Regions from separate parts of the Homo sapiens genome. Here all the other regions are linked to region 1. Evidence: promoter capture Hi-C in 16 types of primary human blood cells and fetal thymus (Javierre and others, 2016). All regions are on one chromosome and are shown on one strand. The core of a region is centred on a gene start or on the middle of the fragment in contact, and the rest is flanking DNA. Distances in the headings are between cores, read along the strand shown. Region 1 holds the start of SNX30 (sorting nexin family member 30). Region 2 holds the start of UGCG (UDP-glucose ceramide glucosyltransferase). Region 3 overlaps SUSD1 (sushi domain containing 1). Region 4 overlaps SUSD1 (sushi domain containing 1). Region 5 holds the start of SUSD1 (sushi domain containing 1).

Region 1 (4,418 bases), core at 1,187-3,686:
GAAACTGGAAAATAAATAAATAAACTGTAATCAACTATTTCATATGGCCTTTTAGGAACTCTGGGTCTGGGTCCTTTTTTTGGTGGGAGCATAGAAAAGTGGTACTCCAATCTAAACTGAGCAAATGGAGGACTTTGGAGGTCAATACACACACACACACACACACACACATATACACACATATATATGTACACACACATATATATGTATATATATATATATTTTTTTTTATTTTGAGACAAGGTCTCCTTCTGTTGCCCAGGCTGAAGTACAGTGGTGCAATCTCAGCTCATTGCACCCTCAACCTCCCAGGCTCAAGCAATCCTTCCACCTCAGCCTCTTGGGTAGCTGGGACTACAGGTATGTGCCACCATGCCGGACTAATTTTTACATTTTTTATAGAGATGGGGCTCTCACTATGTTGCCCAAGCTGGTCTTGAACTTATGGGCTCAAGTGATCCTCCCACCTTGGCCTCCCAAAGTGCTGGGATTACAGGTGTGAGGCACCCTACCTGGTGTGTATGTGTGTGTATATATATGTATATTCAACCAGACCCTACTCAGAATAGTAAAGCATATTTAATTACAAAAACTCTTTATTATTTCATAAGAATAGTAGAGAAAATCTGACAGAAAGGGAAAGGAAGGTAGGTAATTAACATTTAGGGAGCACCTATTTTATGCCAGCACTTTGCTAGGACTATGACATAAAGAATGCTATATAACTCTCACAACCATCTCATAAGGTATTATTACCTGCTCTCCATTCTCCTCCTTTTTAGGTTAGGAACAGGTTCACTGAGGTTAGTAACTTGCTCATGGTCACCCACTTGTAGTGACAAAGCCGAATTCAAATGTGGTTCTTTTTTCACTTTCCCCTGGTGTACTAAAGAGAAAGCTTGTATAGAGTCTTAATCCATACGGATGTCCATTATATTTAAGGCAGCCTGGTTGTTAAAATAAGTAGCACCATTCAATAAGAAAAACCGATGTTATACATCTATAGATGTATATACTCATTTCTAGAAATACTCATTTCTAGTTATATTGTGCTATTCATTTTCATGCTAATTCAGAAGAACAGATAATAGGGTCTGTAGTAGTTGTAAGCAGCCCTTGAATGTGAAAGTGTTAACAATTTTAATCCAACTCCAAGAGGACCAGAACTTGGCATTCCTTAGATGCAGCATTTAAAATTGTTCCCAGTGCCCTTTGAATGCTACTTTTCCCAGCCAAGGCAGGCTTATGTGGAGGAGATAAAGATGATAGCTTGAGGACTAAGGGTCCAACCCTATATAAATTACATTGGGGGAAATAGGGGAAGGTCTTTGAAGCTCAGAGTCTCTGACTGATATTTTGGGTAGATTTCAACCCTCTGCATTCTCTTCTATTTGTTTCTAGAGAAAACTGTGGTAGAGGCCTTAGTGAATCCCAGAGTCAACATCTGTCATCACCTTTTAGCAGGTAAGGCTAGGCAAACCTTTGAGTTTGGAATGGGTAGGGAAAATGTGGTCCCTCACGATGAGCCTCCCTACCCATTACTTTGCTAGAGGGACTGAAAACCCTTTAAAGACTTGGCCTTGGAAACAGAAGATCTAGGGACAGGTAAGGTGGAAAAAGGAGGTGAACCTACACCCCAAAGGGCTGGAAGTAACACCTTGACTATTTGCACCACGCCAGCAAATAAAGCTGAGAATCAGCTCAGCCCAAGGCCTGGAAAGGAAGCACAAATGCATGAAGAATAACTTGAACCTCATGGTTCTTTCAAAAGTCTCTTCGGCCAAAGTGTGAGTTGAAGAGTCGCATATCATTTGAGACTCTCTACTCATGCTCGCTGTTCTGAGGTTTGACTTTACACAAATCCAGCTCAGCTGCAGAAGCAAGCCACAATGGGGACCTCAGAGTGAGCCTGAAGACTCCCCACACCGCCTCTTTGAAGTCCCTTCCAGGTTCCCCACCCGATGTCCTCTAGCTCATTTGAGCCTTGTCGCCCTTTATGCTATTCTTCCGATATGGGTCGTAATTCCGTCTATCTAGGGTTCTTCCTGCGCGTGCCTTAGAGGCCAGAAGACCCTGACTCACGTGCGTGTCCTCAAAGCCCCCAGCCCCAAGCGTGGCTGCTGGTGGGCGCATCAGTAAACGCGGGTGGAACGGAACAGGCTCCTCCAACCTCTTTTCCACCTCTGATTTCCGTTAGACATTTGCTCCGCACGGCGGCCTCCGCGAGGCAACGTTGGACACTGGGAGGACAGCCGCAGAGGCCCAGGGCGCACTTCCTGCCGGGCGGGGGCGGGGCCGCGCCTCCTCCCTCCCTCCCTCCGTCCTTCCTTCCCCACGTGCCCCTTCCCCGCCCTCCCCGCCCCCTCCCGGGCGGCCGCGGCGCCTCGGGGGCGGGGCCGGAGCGGGTGGGCGGTGTGGCTGTGTGGGCTGGGCGCCGCGGCCGTGCTGCCAGCGGACCCGCGGCGGGCTCGGGCGCGGAGCGGGGGCGCGCGGCGCGGAGCGGAGCGTCTGAGCGCCGGCAGAGACCAGCCGGCGGGTGGCGGCGGCCCCCAGCACGGCCGGTGCAAGGCCTCGGGTTAAGCGGCGGCCGAGCGGGGCTCGGCCCGGGGTGCTCGGGGAGCTCGCCGCGGCGGGCAGCAGGAGGAAGCGGCGGCGGCGCGTCCCGAGCGGTGCGCGCCATGGCGGGCGGGCCCCCCAAGGCCCTGCCGTCCACGGGGCCCCACTCCCTGCGCGACATGCCGCACCCGCTGGCCGGCTCCAGCAGCGAGGAGGCCGTGGGTGGTGACAGCACGCCCAGCCCGGACCTGCTGATGGCCCGCAGCTTCGGTGACAAGGTGGGGCGCCTGGGGCCGGGGAGTGGGAGGCTTATTTCGCTCCCCGTGGGGGGGATGATGGATCCGGAGCCTTCGTGGGCCTGGGGCCGCGCCCACCCTGCCGCCCCTTCCCGGGGGACGGGCGTGTCCTGGCCCCGGAGCCCTCGGCGAAGCGTCTCCTCTGCCGCCTCCGCGGGGTCGCAGCCGCAGAGGGACAGGCTTCGCTGCCTGTGACTGGTCGCAAGCACCGGTGACAGCTGGTGGGGAGGGGTCCAGCCTGCGTGTTGGAGCGGGAGGCGTGTGTTCAGGGCAGGGCGCCTGTGTCCTCGGATGGGGTTCCGAGTTCCTCCAGGTGCATCCCTGCAGGCTGAGCTGCTGCATAACTTGTAGCTCCTCCAGTTTCCGAGACTGCACAGAAAGCAGGAGTTCCTGGCTTTCCGTGCTGGGACCGGGCAGCCCTGGGCTTACAGCGAGAGTCTTCTTCCCCCTAGTCAGTCATGTGGGGAGTGATCTTTGTTTAGGTTTGCTGTTTGTCCTGAGGAGTCACCTGACTCAGACCCCAGCCGGCGGCGGGAGGAGAGCCTCGTTGTGGTTTTCTGTCTGGGGCTCCATTCACCTCCGACGGCCTACCACTCTGTTTAGGTTTGGCAGAGGCTGGTTTTGTGGTTGATGGAAAGAAAGCTCGCCCTTTGACCTTCTTTGTACGGAGGGAGGCTCCAGATTTTCTTAGAGCAGCACAACCCTCCTGCTGCTTGGAGAGACAGCAGAGTCCAGGCAGGGGTAAGGGACGACCTCCTCCCTACCCCCATGGCCATTTCAGCTGTGAAGGAGACTTGAGCAGTGATTGTATCCCCGCTCCTGCCGTCACTTAGTCACTAACTGCAGAAATTAGAATTGTTCTCAGGTCTTGTGATCAAGATTTTCTCTCCCTAGTAAAATACTAAATGAATTCCCCCTTGTCCCAATATTAATGGGAGCAGGGGACCTAACTTTCTTCTCCCGTTAGAGGGGACACCATGTGGTACAGTGAAAAAGGAGTATGAGAAAATATAACCTGCCCTCCTTGCAGTCAGAAGGTCACTGAGCACTTAAAATCACTAGAGAGTGCGACTTGATGTACCTTCTGCAGAGGGTTTGTGAAAGCAGGGAGTGAAGTTCCAAAGCATTAGGAACAGGAAAATTAAAAAAGCTAATGGAGGCCAGGTGCAGTGGCTCACACCTGTAATACCAGCACTTTGGGAGGCTGAAGTGGGATGATTGCTCTGAACCAAAAGTTTGAGACCAGCCTGGGCAACATATCGAGACCCCGTTTCCACATACGCACACAGCATGGTGGCATGCACCTGTAATCCAGGCTACTCAGGAGGCTGAGGCGGGAGGATTGCTTGAGCCTGGGAGTTCAAGGCTGCAGTGAGCTATGATTGCACCGCTGTACTCCAGCCTGGGCAAGAGAGTGAGACCCTGTCTCCAAAAAATGTTGAATAACTGAATAAATTTGCTTTCTTATCGACAAAAATTGGTCTTAAAATAGTGTAGGAACTGGGGGTTAAACCTCATTTCCTTCTCAGTTCTGTGTGGGACACTGAATTAATTATCTATTGCTGT
Region 2 (4,418 bases), core at 897-3,396, 850 kb before region 1:
AAAAAGAAAAAACGCCAATTAACTCTAAGATGGCATTGACTGTGAGATGCATTCCCATTTCAGAGAAATTAAAATTTGTTAAAGTGTTTTTTTGAAGTGTGCCTTAGAATTAACTACAATCGTAAATTTTTGTTTGGAACGTTATTTCGATGTTAGAATTCTATTCCACTTTTTTTTAAGACAGGGACTCACTGTCACCCAGGCTGGAGTTAAGTGGCGCGATCACAGCTCACTGCAGCCGCCACTTCCCAGGATCAGGTGATCCTACCACCTCAGCCTTCCCGGTAGCTGGGACTATAGGTGCCATAACCATGCCTGGCTAATTTTTTTTTTTTTTTTTTTTTGTAGAGACAGGGTTTCATCATGTTGCCCAGGCTGGTCTCAAACTCCTGGCCTCAAGCAATCCTCCTACCTGAGTCTCCCAAACTGCTGGGATTACAGGCATGAGCCACTGCGCCTGGCCCTCCATCCTGCTATTTTTATCAGCCAGTAACTCTCAACAGTGGGAATTTGATTTTGAAGCATTGTTCTTTCCCACTGATTCTGCACCAGTGGAGCCAAGGATGTTAATCGAGGAATGGTTCGGACATTAACTCTTCTAGTTGTAGTTTGTCATTTAATTGCAGATTGAGGTAGATCATTCAGTGACTATTAACTACCATAAACAGCAATAATAAACAACTTCTTTTCTTTTTTTTAAATTCATCTATTTTTTTTCGAGACAGAGTCTCGCTCTGTCGCCCAGGCTGGAGTGCAGTGGCGCGATCTCGGCTCACTGCAACCTCCGCCCCTCCAGGTTTAAGCAATTCTCTGCCTCAGCCTCCGGAGTAGCTGGGATTACAGGCGCCTGCCACCACGCCCGGCTAATTCTTTGTATTTTTAGTAGAGACGGGGTTTCACCATCTAGGCCAGGCCGGTCTTGAACTCCTGACCTCATGCTCCACCTGCCTCCGCCTCCCAAAGTGCTGGGACTACAGGTGTGAGCCACCGCGCCCAGCCACAACTTCTTTTCAAAATTGAATTCAATTCTGAAATATCTCAAGGGAGGTCATGGATTATTTAAAAGGAAATCACTTGCAACAATAAACATAAAACAATGCAGAAATAGTATAAACTCATCTAGATTGAAGAAACACAAACATTGAGTACTAGCATCTTCTTGGGATGACTTAAAATTAGGACAAATACTTAGTTACCTTACTACCCAAAGTGACATTTCTTCCCATTTTAGAGCTGTGCTGTCCACACGTACAATTAAAATTTTCTAGTAGCTAGCCAAAGTATTTAAAAAGAGAAATTAACTTAATAATTTACCTAATTTAATGTAGTATGTCCAAAATATTACCTTTTCAACATGCAATCAATATAAAATTTACTAACGAGATGGTCTTCCACATCTGGTGTACTGTTTACTCCACAGAGTGGCAAGCTGCCTTTCCAACCCTCACTTAGCCACATGCGGCTACCGTATTGGATGGCAGTCTTAGGGAATTTCAATATCAACTGATTCTTTAATTCTGAATTTGAGAATTTCTTTTTATAATACACACGGTCGCTAAGGCGCTTAGAGATCTGTGAGGCGCATGGAGATTATTTTACTCTCCGGTCCCTTTTGATCCAAGATCCCACAGCATTAAAAGCAGTAAGAGGGAAGGCAATGGGCATCCCTTGCGCCCAGGAACGTGGCCTGGAGGGCCTGGCTGCTCCGAGCAGTAGCAGTGCCCGGCGGGGAGGCTGCAGACGCGGCGTTGGAAGTTGGATTTCTAGACAAGCTCCGGCAGCTGCCCGGAACCCGTGTCTTTTTCTGGGGCACCCAGGAACAGCAGGGCCAGACGGAGAGAGAGCAGCCTCCAGCCAGGCACAGGGTCCCGAGCTGCCACCGACACCGAGGGAGCCCGGCCCAGGGCTGCAGCGCTTTCCGCCTAGGTGGGCGGCAGCGGGAGCGAGGAGCCGGAGGAAGCCCGGCCTGCGTCCTGCGGGCAGCAGGACACGATCTCCCCGGCGCGCTCTCGCCGGCGCCGCAGCGGGCGCGCGGGCGACAGGGTGGGCGTGGACCGATGGGGGCACCGCCCCTGGGAGAGGCGGGCGCCGCGGTTCCGGGGGCGGGACGCGCCGAGGAGTGGGGCGCGAGCCGCCGGTTTTGATTAGTGCGCGGAGCTGCGGCGGTGGAGCTGCTCGGCCGGGAGCCCGGCGGCGAGACGGAGAGGCGGCGGAGGTGCCCGCGCGCAGGGTCTGGTGGGCGGCCGCGAGGCTCGGGAGAGGCGAACCGGAGCGCGGGACCGCGGTCGCCCCGACCAGAGCCGGGAGACCGCAGCACCCGCAGCCGCCCGCGAGCGCGCCGAAGACAGCGCGCAGGCGAGAGCGCGCGGGCGGGGGCGCGCAGGCCCTGCCCGCCCCTTCCGTCCCCACCCCCCTCCGCCCTTTCCTCTCCCCACCTTCCTCTCGCCTCCCGCGCCCCCGCACCGGGCGCCCACCCTGTCCTCCTCCTGCGGGAGCGTTGTCCGTGTTGGCGGCCGCAGCGGGCCGGGCCGGTCCGGCGGGCCGGGGGATGGCGCTGCTGGACCTGGCCTTGGAGGGAATGGCCGTCTTCGGGTTCGTCCTCTTCTTGGTGCTGTGGCTGATGCATTTCATGGCTATCATCTACACGTGAGTGAGGGACCGCAGGAGGGGCTCGGGGCAGGGGTCCGGGCCTCGGAGACAGGCGAGAATGGGAAACGTTTGCGCTTTGAAGGGGACTGGGCTCGGGCGGGGGTGGAGAAAGCTGATCGTCAGGCTGTTCCCCCCGTTCCCTCGCCCCTCGGACCGGCGGTGGCGGTGGTCTTTGCGAGGGAAAAGTGTTGGGCGTGGGAAGGGTTTGCTGGGTTGCAGGCGACTGCCCAGCCAGGCTAAAGGAGACTGCTCTTACGTGTCAGGCTGAAGGTGGTGGCTTGGTTTGATTGTGCTGGGGATTCGTGTAATTTTTCATCTGGGCCGAGATGTATGGTGTATTGTTTTTTTCTCCCGACCTGGGCCACGTTTCTGTTAGGGTGGTGATTGTGTCCACTTTTCTGGGAGCTGCTCACAGCTATCTGGACACCTCTCTGTGGATTTTCTTCTTCCTGGAAGGGCTCTATGCGCTTAGATAGGTGTGAAGCACCTGTCCACCCTGAAAAATGTCCACCAAACCTCCGAGCTGGCATGATAGCTTTGAGTCCTGTCAGCTTGTACATCTCAGCGTGGTTTTCTTTCCTTTTTTCAGTTCCTCGTTTTATTGTTTTATGTAGATTTGTACTCTCCCCGTGCCGGCCACATCTTTTCATTTTTGTTTAACAAATACTTCTTGAGGCCTACTAGATACCATTCACTGTTATTGGCCAGGGGACATGGTGGTGAGCAGGACAGAATTCCTGTCCTCATGAGTCTTACATTCTAGAAGGAAGGAGCAGATAAAATCTAAATAAGGTTATGAGATTGTGACGAAGCGTGTAAGTAAAATAGAACTGGGTGATGGCGTGAATAGAGACATGGGTTATGTGGCTAGTTTGGTATATCCACTGTTTAAGGTGAAATCTGCCTCTGTAAAGAAATGAAAAAATTATATAGAGCACATTACTGATATCGATTCACTTGGATTTTTAGTCTGGGGGGAGAAAAGAGCAATTGTATATAGTAATCGTTACCATGAACTAGAATAGAGTGTATGTTAGTGGAAGAGACTTTAAGAAATTAGTTACTTTTAGTTTTTTGGTTTTTTTTTTTTCCTTTTTACTGCGGAAAAAGTGTGCCTTTGCTTTTGGAAACACTGTATTTTATTAGTATAGTGTGGCATTTCCTGGTACTGAGAAAGATGATGCTGGTACAGGTTATACTGATATTTCTTTGAAAGTGAAAGAAAACATGCCACTTGGATATTGTTGACTTTAGTTTTTGGAGTTGGTGAGCTTAGTCACAGCACATTCTGGAGTTCATTTAAAATATGTGAGTTCTTTTTCTTTAAAAAAATTGTTACTTTTTACCGTCATAAAAATAAAAAATGCTTACTGTGTAAGGAATTTATGCAATAGAGAGAGATGGAGAAAATTAAAATATGCACACACCAAAACTACATTACCTTGTTAACCTTTTGTGACTATCCTTCCAATCTGTGTGTGTGTGTGAGAGAGAGAGAAGGAGGGAGGGGAAGAGGGAAGAGAGAAAAGGACTATATTATGATTATTGTTCTGTAACCTGCTTTAAAGTTCATCTGTTTAATAAATGTTTATTGAAAAGCCGTTTTGTGCAAGGCACTGTTCTAGTTGCTGGAAGAGTGAAGAACAAACATACAAGGCCCCTGTTCACATGGAACTGTCCTGTAAAATGTCTTGACCGTTTTTTGCATGTCAATATCTGTATGATCTCTACATCATTTGTAATAGATGCATGATATTTTAGTTTACCAG
Region 3 (4,418 bases), core at 1,335-3,834, 700 kb before region 1:
AATATCTAGAATAATGGGCAAGAAGTTAACATACAGAGAGTGTTACAGATTAATAAAGACATACCTCAATAGCGAAATGAGAAAATTCTACGAAAAGGTAAATCACATGAAAAACATGATTACAGATGATCAATAAAACTTTGAGCAAATGCTCTCTTACAAGTAATAAAAATGCAAATTAAGGCATTAAGATGCCATCTTTGTGCATGACTCAGAAACATTTTTTTAAATGCCATCTTGGTGGACTAATTAACTAGATTTGTTTTGTTTTGTTTTGTTTTTAAGAGAAAATACAATTCTGGAGATGAACGGGGGAGCTGGTACTTTACTGCACTGGCATTTCATCCGATCTACCCAGTATTCCTTCCAACTTCTGACATCAAGTTTTTTTCTGTGTATTTTTTCCTCTACACTTTAACCCTCTGTATATTTTAATCACTGATTGATGAATATGTTGAACTGAAGATGACTGTGGACAGAAATCCATATCATGCATATTCTTGGGTTTGATTTCAACTCATCAATAATTGTTAATGAGTTGATATCAACTGTGCATAGCCATTCAGCTTGTTTCTAAGCCCACATACAGCTCTCATGTCCCCACATTGTCCACAAGGACATTATTGTTATTATGCGTGCCATATTTCCCTGACCAATTACTGACTCTGTGCAAGAAGAAATGGAAAGCAATCTGACCTAATCTGCTCTTAAAGCTCCTGACTCCCGGGAACTGCTGTTTTTTCTACCAGGGATACACAAGCCATCACTTGAAGACCTTGCTTTGCCTTGACTTCAAGTTACCATCATCTACACTTCTGGTGGTTCTTCCTTTGTACAAAGTTCCTTGTTCTTTGCTCATCTCTAGTCCTCTTACATCTCTCCATTTTCTTCAAGGTTTATTGAAGATCATTTGCAATGGTTTATCCATCTCATGTGAAAATTGTATGAACCTGCCAGAATACGCTACATCCATGTTGGAAGACTTGAACCTATGTAGGGTAGCAAGCTCTTTTCTTTCTTCTAACTATCCCCTCACAAACGAAGAGGACAAAAGCTAAGTAGGAGTTAAGGAAGCTGACTTTCACTTGACCATCCACCAGCAGGATCTACCTGGGCACAACTATTCCTTACTCTAGACATAGTATTGGAAAATGATCTTTATTTATTCTGCATAGCACAATTTGGGTTTGGCTCCAGGAATGATTCTTGCTGGTAGATCAGTTCCTGGTTATATGTCTTTTTGTCTACTTTGCATATATACTCTAAAAATCTGAGTCAATCTAATCAAGAGTGCTCACAAGTGTTGCCACACAAGCTTCTTTAGAGACTTTCCTCATTAATTCCTTAATAAGAAAATTTACAACTGGCAAATTTGAATTGTATTTTTTATAGCCTCACCATCCTTTGGTTACCCTACCTTTCCATGGTCTCATGCCAGAGAACCATGTTTATTTTTCTTCTGAATCACTTGTAGAATATTTTTTTACAAACCCAAGTGAATCACTCATGTGTTATATCCCACATCAGTTACTCAATCTTGGAGAAAGTAAGTCCATTAAGACTAAACTTCACCATTCTCTTTATGGTGGCTCCCTCAAGAGAGCTAGTGCTCAGGAGGAGTGATGGGGCCTTGCTGGACTTATCTTTAACCCCTTCCCTGATAGAAATATCACATGCTGAAGAGGAAGTTAGAAAGGCCCTATTTCTACTCTCAGACTTTGTGACAGCTTGAGGACGCTCCATGGGTGTGGACATTTTTTCATGAATATACACGGGCATGGTCACTTCCTGAAAGCACCAATTCTGTTCTCCAAATGGTAAATAATAATAAAAATAATAATTAGCACAGTGACTTCTATTTACTGTGTTAAATTTCTCTTTGCTATTCTAGGGTCTTCTCACTTGAATTCCATTCAGAGCCAAAGATGGCAAAGGAAATCAAAGTGGAAAACTAATTTAAAGATAAGTTTAAAGATTAATTTAAAGATTAATGCTTGATACATTAGCAACACTGTTATATTCCATTTTTATTGCAGTTTAACAAATCACCACAAACTTAGGTAGCTTTAACCCATTTATGAGCTCAGAATTCTGTGGGTGGTAAGTTCAGGCACATTGTGGCTGGTTCTCTGCTCAGGGCCTGTATTAGTCCCTTCTCACACTGCTATAAAGAACTACCTGAGACTGGGTAATTTAAAAGAAAAGAGGTTTAATTGACTCACAGTTCCACAGGGTGTACAGGAGGCAAGGCTAGGGAGGCCCCAAGAAATGTACCATCAAGGCAGAAGGTGAAGGGGAAGCAGGCACAGTCTTCACATGGCCAGAGCAGGAGAGAGAGAGAGTAAAGGAGGAAGTGCTACACACGTTCAAACAACCAAATCTCATGAGAACTCTATCACGAGAACAGCAAGGGGGTAATTCATTCCCATGATTCAGTCATCTCCCACCAGGCCCCTCCTTCAATACATGGGGATTACAATTCGACATGAGATTTGGGTGGGTACATAGAAGAAAACCGTATTAGGGCCTTACGAGGCTAGAATCAAGGTCTCAGGTGGACTGAACTTCTTTCTGGAGGCTCTGGAGAAGAAGCTGCTTCCAAGCTCATTCAGGTTATTGGCTACATTCAGTTCCTTGCTGCTATGGTTTGAGTTTATATCCTCTGAAACTCACTTGAAATTTAATCCTCAATGTGGTGGTGTCAGGAGTTGGGACCTAGTGGGAACTATTTGGGTCATGGGGTTGGAGCCCTCATGAACAGATTAATGCCCTCTCTCAGAGGTGAGTGAGTTCTTGCTCTGGAGGGGCTGTATTACCAGGGAGCTAGTTGTTATAAAAATGAGTCAACTTCCTAGACTCTTTCTTGCTTCCTGTGTCATCACATGATCTCTTTGTATATACCTGCTGGCTTTTCCACTTCTCTACCATTGTTCTGGTGAGCATGTAGCCCTCACCAGAAGCAGGCCAGATGCAGTACTATGCTCTTGAACTTCCCAGCCTACAGACTCATGAGCTAAATAAACCTCTTTTCTTAATAAGTTACCCAGCCTCCAGTATTCTGTTATAGCAACACAAAACAGACTAAGACACTTGCAGTTATAGGACTAGGGTCCCCATTTTCTTACTGGCTGCAGCCAGGCCTTGCTCAGCTCCTTCTGTTAAGCTGCACTCCTTGCCATGTGGACCCCTCCATCTTCAAGCTGCAGGAGAATTTCCCTATGTCAAATCCATCTCATTCTTTGAAGCTCCAACTTCCCCTATCTCTGACCTCTAGATCCAGATTTAAAGGGCTCCTGTGATTAGGTCAAGCCTATCTGGATAATCTCCCTATTCGGGAGCTTAAGTACATCTCCAAAATCCCTTCACAGCAATACCTAGAACAGTCTTTGAATGAATAACTGAGAGAAGGTAGATGTATACCAAAGACAAGGAATTTGGGAACCATATTAGAATTCTTCCCATCACAACTATAAAGGTTTAAAATGATTGTGTGCATGTATATATGTACATATATACACATATATGTACATATACAGTAAATACATATGTATACATACACACTAGGTTTATATCCTGATGTAAGTCTTCTCTGGCTTATTTGATAAGTATTGCACCTCCTATGCTTCATTTCCCATAAAACTAACTGCTGCTTCCTCAGTAATCATTCAGCCCAATTCAGTGCATTCTGATTGAACACCTAATGCATGCCAGGCTCTGTTCCTCCTCTTCAAATGCCCTTCAAGGGTGTAAAATCTAGTAGTAGAAGACAGACAAAACAAGTGCACACCCATTGCTCTAAAATATAGCAGAATAGCCAAAGAAGGGCAGATCCTGCCCTGTTGAGAAAATTTAAAAAGCTTCAGGGAAGAAAGGGCATTTGATTTTAATCTTGAAAAACAGGTGGGATAAGCAGAGATTCACAGGTGGGTGATCAGGAAATCCAGATGGAAGTCGTCAAGTAATTATATGAGCAAGGACATTAAGAGGAGAAAGCATGGGCCATAGCCAGAAAACAGCTGGAACATTGGTTTGAATGGAGAAGAATAAAAGATGTAATTAGAAGGGTATGTTTGTGTCAAATAGAGGACTTGGAAGCCAAACTGAAAAATAATGGAGGACCACAGAAGCAGAGGAAACAAAATCAGTTCTGAGTTTAGAAACAAGTCAGGTGGTGGTGTGTAGGCTGGAATGACGAGGGAAATTCTGAACTCTTGTGATGGGAGATGAGGAAGGAGGATTTGCCCGTCATCCCTGCTACAGGTAGGAAGGCCTATGCTCAGGGAGTGAACACAGAAATGAAAATCAGAGAGGCGTGCCCAAGGTGCTAAATGTGGGCTGAAAGAGAAAAAGGAGTAGTCCCGAATAACTCAGAGGTTTCATGCTTACGACTGGAGAATGTTCCCCGATTACAGCTTATT
Region 4 (4,418 bases), core at 900-3,399, 660 kb before region 1:
ATTGTGAGACAGAAAAAAAATAGTAGATCCAATTAATAAACCAAAATCTTAGAAAAACTAATAAAATAAACAAACCACTTAGCTAATTTAATCTAGAAAAGGGGCAGAAAATAAAGATAAAGGGAGAAATGATCACTGAGACAGAAGAAAATTCAAAAAGTTAAACGAAACTACTTTGCAGATCAGTGTACAAATAAATTTTAAAACTTAGACGAAATAGGTAATTCCTTGCAAAATCTGGTTTGCCAAAATTGACTCCATTAGACAGAAAAAGCTTAAACCGACCAATTTCCATAGAAAAAAATTGAGAATGTCATCAAGGAATAACCCCATAGAAAAGCCCCATACCCAGATCATTTCATAGAATTTGATGGATTCTACCAAATCATCCAAAATCAGATAGTCCAAATGCTATGTGAATTGTCCCAGGGCATAAATAATGAAGGAAACTTTACAAATTATTTTTATGAAGAAAGGAAAATACCAATGCTTAAACCTGATAAAGAGTGTCAAAAAAAATAGAGAAAAGTATAGACCAACATTACTTATAAATATTGGTGCAAAAATACTAAAGAAAATATTAGTGAACAGAATCTAACGCCACATACGACAATACACAATGACCAAGTGGGATATATTACAGGAAGGGGTAGAAGTGCAAGAAAGAGAAAAATTTGAAATTATATCAAATTTAAAAATTATAAGTAAATAAAAGTTGTTAAAATATCTTGTAGTTAGCTTTCCTTTGCATGGCACTAAGGAATATTTTAGACTAAAAAGTATGTGACCCTTTCTCTGATTCTAGCCTAGGAGAGAACAGTTTTGGAGTCTGTGTCTATACGCATGATTAGAAAATGAAGGTACTAAAAAGAATGAGATGAATCTATTGCCTTCAGAGCCACTTAGAACCCATTTAGCTGAAGGCTCCAATTCTAAGCAACTTATTCATCTTTATGAGTAAAGGTAATGGATATGGTCCCACTGAGCTGGATCTACAAGGTCACTAACTTATCTGTTAAAAGAACAAACATCTACTCTCTCCATACTTGGCACATTCAGATGATTGTATATTCCATGTAAAATATATGCCAATTTCTGGCTTGACCAACTACAAGTATGGGTTTCTCAGGCTAATGGTTTGTAAGAAAAGAAGGTAGACTTCAGGCATAACTCTTCAACCACAGAATACTGTTATAATATTTATCACTCTGTGGAAAAATATCAGAAACAACATTAAATGATTTATGGTCTTAATTATCTTTTGTTTGGACTTTAATTCTGTGAACAGGAATCCATTATGGGGGAAGTTTTATAAAGTCCACATAGATCTCAAATTATGCATGCTGTTCAAAACCTGCAGCAGAAAGCCACCTTAAGAGTAATGGTTTTCTACCAGGGCTTTACTCCCTGGGAAGAGTGCTCTGTTCCTTCTCCTTGTAGGATTTTTTAAAACTTACCAACATTATTTTGGGAATATCTAAATGCATGCAATCTTCTGCTAAAAAGAACTGAATAAAAACATTCTTTTGTACATAAATAATAGCGGTATTTAAATCTCTAATTAGAAGTAGCCTATATAGACAGTTGGCTTTGCAAGCTAAATATTGTCATAAAGAATGGCTATAAATCAACTATCCTGAAAGCAAAGTTACTATTGTATAACTGCTCTATAAATAGTGGTATCATCTTAGTTATCCTTGATTTACATTTGGGGAGCAGTTTATCTTAAAGAGGGCAACAAGATATAATATGGTTCAAAGCTGGGAGCTTTACTGTTATTTTATTGAAATTTTTCTTTAGACAAATTTGGTATCTGGTCAGAACAACTGTGAAATTTTTCAGGCTAAACACCTGTGACTATATTACAAGGAGAGGAATTTTGAGAGTTCAATCACCCATTCATTGGCAGAGCAGATTCAAACAATTCCCTTGGCTCAGCTCCCCAGGCTCAACCTTCCAGCAGAGGAGGCCAGCGTTCAATTCAAGCACAAGTCCTTGTTATTCAATTGGTGGCACAGAACAATTGCTCCCTGGGTACTTATAAGAGAAAACAGTTGCTAGCTCAGTGACACCAAACATTCATCAAATCTCAGTTGAGGGAAACAATATTTAGAAAACAATGCTTGAAAGAAATGGACTCCAGTCATACCTCCAAATAATCTAAATAACCTAATCCTACCCCTGAATCAAGCCAGATCAGCAAACAGCAGGCATTTCTAATGCATCTTTTCTGCCACTCTACACTGAATTGTGCTTTTCTGTGTTCAGGGGCAATACAAAAAAATAGCCTTATAAAATCCTCATAAAATGCTGCTCAGACACTGTCCTATTTATGAGACCCCCTGGAATCAGAAATTTCTAACTGATTCTTAATGTTGAAAAAGAATTGTGCTTCTGAAAAACACTGCTTCGTTGTAACATTATGGACAATGCAATGGTTCCCTTTCTGGCTGGATGGGAAAACTCAAACCTAAATTTTAGAGGCACTAATGAACAAGTAAATAGGTTATAAGGGCATGAATTATTCTTAACCTTATTCCTATATTTTTTATGTCTCTGTTTTTGTTTTCTTTCTTCTTTAGCCTAGACGTCTAACCTATTATCGTTTATTTTATATACCCATGCAGGTCACTTAAAGTCTTTCCTAGAAATAAGACAGAATATAAATACTCTTTTGTTTTAAAAAATTCTACATTTAATAACAATGTAATGAATCACAATGGAAAAGATCAATAGATTTGACTGTATAGCAATCTAAAACTTTTATATGTCAAAAACATCGTAAACAAAATTGAAAGAAACCATAAAACAGAAGAAAGGCAACATAAATAATAATCAAAGAAGTCATGCTCTCAGTATATGAATAAACTATCTATGTCCATGAGAACACAAAATTTGATCAATAAATAAAATAGTGATGGTAAATTAACCAAGAAATTTGGACAAATTTTTCCTTCAAAACAAATGAATTTGAAGGAACCTAAAAGTAATTTAAATTGCTTTCCTAACATAGACTCCTAGAACTATAATGGACCTTTCCTGTTCAAGATAATTACAGAGATCAGTGACCTTGCTTGAGTGTATTAAAGGTTGCTATTTACCTGTCTTTCCAATTCCATAAGGGAAAAGGCAATTTTGGCTTCTCCCTATTCCCTATATGTTAATCCTCAAGGAAGGAACAGTAAATATGTAATCTAATTGGTAGGAGACTGCCATTCCTTGAGTCACATTTCCAAGTAATAAGTTCATATATTACAGGTTGCCACCCAAACAAAAGGCAGACTTGCTCTCTGGGACCCGCCTGTGCACAGGTACAAGGAGCACTCTGGGTATCTCCGGTCTCCAAGAGGTAAGCACCCAGTGTCTGTCACCGCCCTTTCCTCTGCTTTTCGGCCTGAGACTGGGTGGGTAAGCCAGGCAAGGGTCCCTTACAGACCCAACTGCCCATATTTCCAGGGGGAATTCCAGCAAGTAGGAAGTTCCACTTGGCCACAATAGCTAAACCTCATCCTTCAATATAGCTTTTACCTGAAATTCAGTTTTGGAGAGAGTTCCTGGAAACTTGCCCAGATCAATAAAGTTGATCCTCTATTTGTCATTTATCTATCTGTTTGTCCTGTTAATCTCAGATGGAAAGGAGAGGTAAGATTCAGTATCTCCCTGCAAAAGACAGATATACTGACTGGGGCCTTGAGTATAAAGATAAGAGCTGCCACAGCGGAGCAAGGCACCATGATGGAAGATGAGAGCTCCTGGTCTCTGCAGCTGGAATTCAGGAACAGATGAGGTAGGTAGATATCTGATTACCAGGAAAACTTTGCAAATCAGACAAAGCTCTAAGACATAGGCTTTTTAGGCAGGAGCAGATGGAATTATTTTAGCTACCACTTTTTTTTTATTTCAGTCTTTCTTTTCTTATTATGTCTCCGCCTGCAAGAGCTTTGACATTGCCCGGAAGTAGCTAAGGTTTATGTGGTTAGAGCAATGCGACTCAAAATGTGGACTGACAATATCAATAAGGCCTGAAAGCTTGCTAGAAATGAAAATTTGCTCCCCTCCCCAAAGGCCTACTGAATCAGAACCTCTGGGATGGGGCCCAGGAACCAGTGTTTTCATAAGCTCTCCAGGTAATCATTACACTTGCTAAAGTTTAAGATGCACAAAGGGAGCAATGGTGGGAGGTTTTAAAGAGCATTTTGGGGAGCTAGATATTAGTAGACAACATTAGATTAGCTTGCCAAAATTCCATTTCTCTTTATATTGTTTGGAATTTCATCCAGGGCTAAGGAGAGAACTGTAGAAAGACTGGATCCACGGTTTCTCCACAGGCTGAGTTCACCCCCACACCAAGGGCTTTTAAATGGCCCTGGATGATCTGTTTCACAGAAACTCAGACCGGGGATTCTAGATAAGAAACT
Region 5 (4,418 bases), core at 672-3,171, 580 kb before region 1:
TTAGTAAGGAAGATGGGGGTTCCTTAGACCCTCTTTCCCCCGCCTCAAGTTTACTTATACAAATAGCAAAGGAGGACATCAGCCCCATGCAGATGGCAGTCCAAGGGGGACAATCCTTCTGTCCTCACGTTGGCAGACACAGATCTCTACTCTGAAGGCTTTGTAGGGGCCTGAGCTCCTTCGGGAGTCTGAGCTGGAACTGAAGCTGGAGCTGCAGCCTGAGCCTTGGTTTGATCCTTGACCTTGGTCTTTGGCTGGCACAGCCTGAGCCCCTTGGCAATGCGGGCACGAGCACGTTTCCCAAGCTTGAGGTGGGCAACGTAGGCAAGAGCTGACACCCTTTGGAATCTTGGGCTTAACCTCCTTGGGGTTTATGAGGGCAAGGCCTCAGCACGTGCACTCATGGCCTTGGCACTGTCGCCCTGCATCTTCTTTAGGCCCCTCTTATTGTGCTTCTTGGCAAACCGCATGTTTGTCAGGAACTTGGGGTCCACCCCTTTAAAAGATTCGTATCTTTGTGATCCGGGTTTCATGATGCCGTTTCTGTGCCATTTTCGGGACTGGTTGTGTGTGGTGTGGTGCTTGGATTTGGCCATGTCTGCACTGTAACCTGTGGCTCCCGAAGCGCCTAGAACTGGCTAGACCCACTTTTCTTGTCACTCCCTGAGACGGCTTCCAGTGGCTTCCAGGCACAGCTAAGTCCAAAGGCCTAGGTCTGCCAATCAAGGCACTCTGCCCTCTGCCTCTGGTGCCTCCGTGTGCTTCCTTCCCTTCTCCCCCGGGCCTGAATTCTGAAGGAATTCATTCATTCTACACTCATTTGTGGAGAGGTGACAGTGCCTTCTGCTATGAGCTGGGATACCTTTTTCACATTTTCCCATATCCAAATATGACCAATCATTGATGGCCCAGCTCAAGGGTCACCACCGATTCCCCTTTCCCTGCCCTCACCACCCACACCTTCTCATGGCACCCATGCCATTCTGCCTTGTATTACAGTTATGTGGATGAATGTCACCTCCCCTGCGTGTCTGAATCCTCTGTGTAATTCCTACTCAGCTCAACACTGCATTTTGCAGAGGAGGAAAAACAACTCCCTCGATTGCTTGGAAATAGAACATTTGCTGGTCTAAATCCTCCAGACAATGAGCTCCACGAGGGCCCGCACTGCCCGCCCTCATCGCGCACAGGGAAGCTGTTCAAGGGCCATCTGTTGAATGAATGAGTGAATTAATGGCTTCACTCCTGTACTCTTCCTTACGCGTCTTTCTCACCATATTTAGCATCCGGCTCTCTAACAACGTGAAAAAATTAAAAGTGGTAAGAAAATTGCTTCGGGTCAAAAATGTGTCATGCAAAAGCCACCGCAGAGCCGGAAGCGTGACAGCGCCGCAGAACGCCCTGGCCTCCCCGCCCTTCCCCGGGCGCCGCCCTGCCCGGGTCCGCGCTCGCGCCCAGCCCCCACCCCGCCTCCTGGGCAGTGGAGGTCCCTGGGGGCCCGGCCAGGCCGCCTTAAAACCGGCGTCCCCCGGCGTCGCGGGGTCGGGCGGGGGCAGGGAAGCCCGGCGGGGAGCCCCCCGCTTCTCTGAGCTCCTCCTTGCCGATCTCCAACGGCCGGCGCGGGCCCCACCTGCGCCCCACGCCTCGGCACCGCGCCGGCCCGGCCCAGGGGCGGGGAAGCGTCCGTGCGCCCAGAGTCCTCGAGGCCCAGCCGGGGGCCCCGCCGGCCGCCCGTGCCCGTCCCAGCCCGCACTCACCGTCGGGGCCCGGCGCTCCCGCGGCGCCGCGGGCCAGGCCGAGCAGCAGCAACAGCGGCAGCAGGCGGCGAGACGGGCCCGCATCCCAGGGCCCCCGGCCCATGCCGCCGCCGGTCCCTCCCGGCGCGCCCGCGCCTCCTCCCGGGGCCCTCAGGGTGCAGAGATAAGGCTACAGGCGCCGCGGGGAGGGGACCAGCCGGCGGCTTCCGGCGCCGCCGAGGGAAGCGGGGGGCGCTGCGGGGTCCCCGGGAGGCCGCAGAGCGCGGGTCCTTCCTCTTGTCGGGGCCTGGGCTTAGGACACGCCCGTTCCGCGTCCGTCTCTGGCTCCGCACTTGCTGCCCTCTCGCCGCTCACATTCGCAAAGGGGGACAGACACTCATCGGATAATGACACAGCTGGACGCAGAGCCCCGGAGAGTGCTGGGGAGGAAATGTTGCGGAGGATTCAAGCCACTCGAGGGCTCAGGGAGGCACCCCCGGGGAGAGGGGTGAGGGGAGCAAGGGGCGGAAATCTTCCAGGACGTGAAAGGGAGCTGGATGAGGTGACCACAGCGCAAGGCCCAGATGAGAGGTCGGAAGACGCAGACCCAGGCCACCCAGGGGCGACACACTTGACCAGGTGACACCTGGTCACCGGGAGTGAGAGAGAGTAGGGCTGTGATGGAGGGAGGGGCTGGCATCAGTCCCCGCTGCTCTGAGGACACCCGGCTTGGGACGCGCTGATGCCAGCCCCTACCTCCATCACAGCCGTACTCATCCCAAGGGAAGGAGTAAACCAAGACCCAAGGATGAGAAGGACGTTGGGGAGGAATCTAAGCGGGAGTTTGTTGTAGAAATGGGGAATGGGGACCTAGAGTGAGAGCAGAGGGTTGGAGAGGGGCGTTGAGCTGCAGAGGGAAGTTAGCCCTCCTAACCCAAGTGATGGAGGTCGCCGGGAAGCTGTCACAGTTTCAAGCAGTGAATGACTTCATCACTGACACATCTCTGTCTGTTCTGTGGAATTGGGATTGGGGTTGGGTTGGGATGTGGAAGGCAAAGAGTCCAGCCCGGAGTTGCTGCAGGAATCAGGCAATAGAAGACATGTCCTGGCCCGGTGCGGTGGCTCACGCCTGTAATCCCAACACTTTGGGAGGTCGAGGCGGGTGGATCACTTGAGGTCAGGAGCTCGATACCAGCCTGGCCAACTTGGTGAAACCCCGTCTCTACTGAAAAAAAAAAAATTAGGTGGGCACGGTGGCAGGCACCTGTAATCCCAGCTACTCGGAAAGCTGAGGCGAGAGAATTGCTTGAACCCAGGAGGCGGAGGTTGAAGTGAGCCGAGCTCGCACCACTGCACTCCGGACTGGGCGACAGAGTGAGACTCCATAGACAGATAGATAGATAGATAGATAGATAGATAGATAGATAGATAGATAGATAGATAGACAGACAGACAGACAGACAGACAGATAGAGATAGAGATAGATGTGTCCTGCAGCTGGGCATTGACAAATGAGTGTGAAGAGGGCAGTGTGTAAGAGTGGAATCCACTAGGTTTTATGACTAGTCGGGGAGAAGGAAATAAATAAGATCCGGTTTGAAGGCTTTGAGCTTGTGATGTCTGTGGGAGCGCAGCCGAGAGCAGGCACCCCACTACTTCACCCCATATCCTCACTTGTTTACTCTCTGCCATGAGCCTGCCGTAAATCTCACCACTTTCAAACACACCCATATAAGGGCTAAAGTTGTGGAGTCTTAACAAGTAGTTAAAAATCAACTTCAAGCTGGGTGAAGTGTGGCATGCCTGTAGTCCCAGCTACTAAAGAGGCTGAAGGGCAGGAGAATTGCTTGAGTCCAGGAATTCAAGGCCCATGTGGGCAATACAGTGAGACCCCCTCTCTTAAAAAAACAAACAAACAAAAACAAACAAAGAAAAAGCTCATCTTCCTAGGCTCTTTTTTCCTCTTGGGGAGACAAGGTCTTGTTCTGTTGCCCAAGCTGGAGTGCACAGCTCACCACAGCCTCAACCTCTTGGGCTCAGGTAGTCCACTAGCCTCAACCTCCCAGTAGCTGGGACTACAGGGGCGCAGCATCATGCCTGGCTCATTTAAAAAATTTTTTTTGTAGAGACAAGATCTGGCTATGTTGCCCAGGCTGGTCTCCAACTCCTTGGCTCAAGCAATCCTCCCACCTTGGTCTCCCAAAGTGCTGGGATTACAGGAGTGAGCCACTGCATCTGGCCTCACAAGCTCTTTTCTTAGCAGGCTTTCTTGAAAATTATTTTTGATCAACAAAGACAGGCACCTGTTTGGGGAGCAATAGATGGACGGTGTGTCTCTATTATTTAGACAAATTTTTTAAGTTCAGCTCTCCATAAACTTCAAACTTGGAAATCATGTCATTGTTTCAACAAATATACCATTCACTTAAGATTTTTAACCAGCCTATACCACTTCATCCCCACTGTGGCCCCTTGCAAAATAAATAAACTTAAGTATATATGTATATACATTTTTTATTGATAATGTCAGGAAAATTTGTCCAAAACTTGGAAATGGGCAAAAGAGATTACTGGGTATCCTTTCAGTGGGGTGCTGGGTGCACCGTCGCTGGACTTCCTATTGACTAGGCTATTTTGCAGCACTAGAGGGCTAGAAGTTAACTTGCCGAAAACTGATGATAA

What was found. Contacts are between HindIII fragments. The CHiCAGO score rates a contact against its expected background, and 5 or more counts as called.
Region 2: a contact is called between the fragment with the promoter of UGCG here and the fragment with the promoter of SNX30 in region 1, in 1 of 17 cell types (fetal thymus). The highest score is 6.0, in fetal thymus.
Region 3: a fragment that was not itself captured here is called in contact with the fragment with the promoter of SNX30 in region 1 in 1 of 17 cell types (naive B cells); the score reaches 5.3 in naive B cells.
Region 4: a fragment that was not itself captured here is called in contact with the fragment with the promoter of SNX30 in region 1 in 1 of 17 cell types (fetal thymus); the score reaches 5.4 in fetal thymus.
Region 5: a contact is called between the fragment with the promoter of SUSD1 here and the fragment with the promoter of SNX30 in region 1, in 2 of 17 cell types (megakaryocytes and fetal thymus). The highest score is 6.3, in megakaryocytes.

The regions. Positions count from the first base shown.
Region 1 is chr9:112,748,324-112,752,741 of GRCh38, forward strand. SNX30 (sorting nexin family member 30) reads left to right here and starts at 2,437. Exons shown (of 9, transcript NM_001012994.2): 1 at 2,437-2,834. The coding sequence starts at 2,679. SNX30-DT (SNX30 divergent transcript) reads right to left here and starts at 2,242. Exons shown (of 1, transcript NR_186503.1): 1 at 561-2,242. RefSeq lists a silencer at 2,195-3,014 and enhancers at 2,284-3,205, 3,206-4,125. The HindIII fragment of the contact is 6,629 bases long and covers 897-4,418 here.
Region 2 is chr9:111,894,668-111,899,085 of GRCh38, forward strand. UGCG (UDP-glucose ceramide glucosyltransferase) reads left to right here and starts at 2,147. Exons shown (of 9, transcript NM_003358.3): 1 at 2,147-2,646. The coding sequence starts at 2,549. RefSeq lists an enhancer at 1,598-2,181 and silencers at 1,802-2,391, 2,502-2,591. The HindIII fragment of the contact is 9,149 bases long and covers 1-4,418 here.
Region 3 is chr9:112,044,881-112,049,298 of GRCh38, forward strand. All of the region lies in intron 15 of SUSD1 (sushi domain containing 1), which reads right to left. Among named protein-coding and RNA genes, the nearest start is that of LINC02977, 6.7 kb to the left of the region's middle. The HindIII fragment of the contact is 2,542 bases long and covers 1,314-3,855 here.
Region 4 is chr9:112,090,045-112,094,462 of GRCh38, forward strand. The region is part of intron 10 of SUSD1 (sushi domain containing 1); the gene reads right to left. Among named protein-coding and RNA genes, the nearest start is that of LINC02977, 52 kb to the left of the region's middle. RefSeq lists an enhancer at 1,679-2,325. The HindIII fragment of the contact is 3,755 bases long and covers 273-4,027 here.
Region 5 is chr9:112,173,376-112,177,793 of GRCh38, forward strand. It overlaps SUSD1 (sushi domain containing 1), which reads right to left and starts at 1,922. Exons shown (of 17, transcript NM_022486.5): 1 at 1,758-1,922. The coding sequence starts at 1,860. It also overlaps the pseudogene RPL29P20. RefSeq lists a silencer at 1,381-2,040. The HindIII fragment of the contact is 4,774 bases long and covers 304-4,418 here.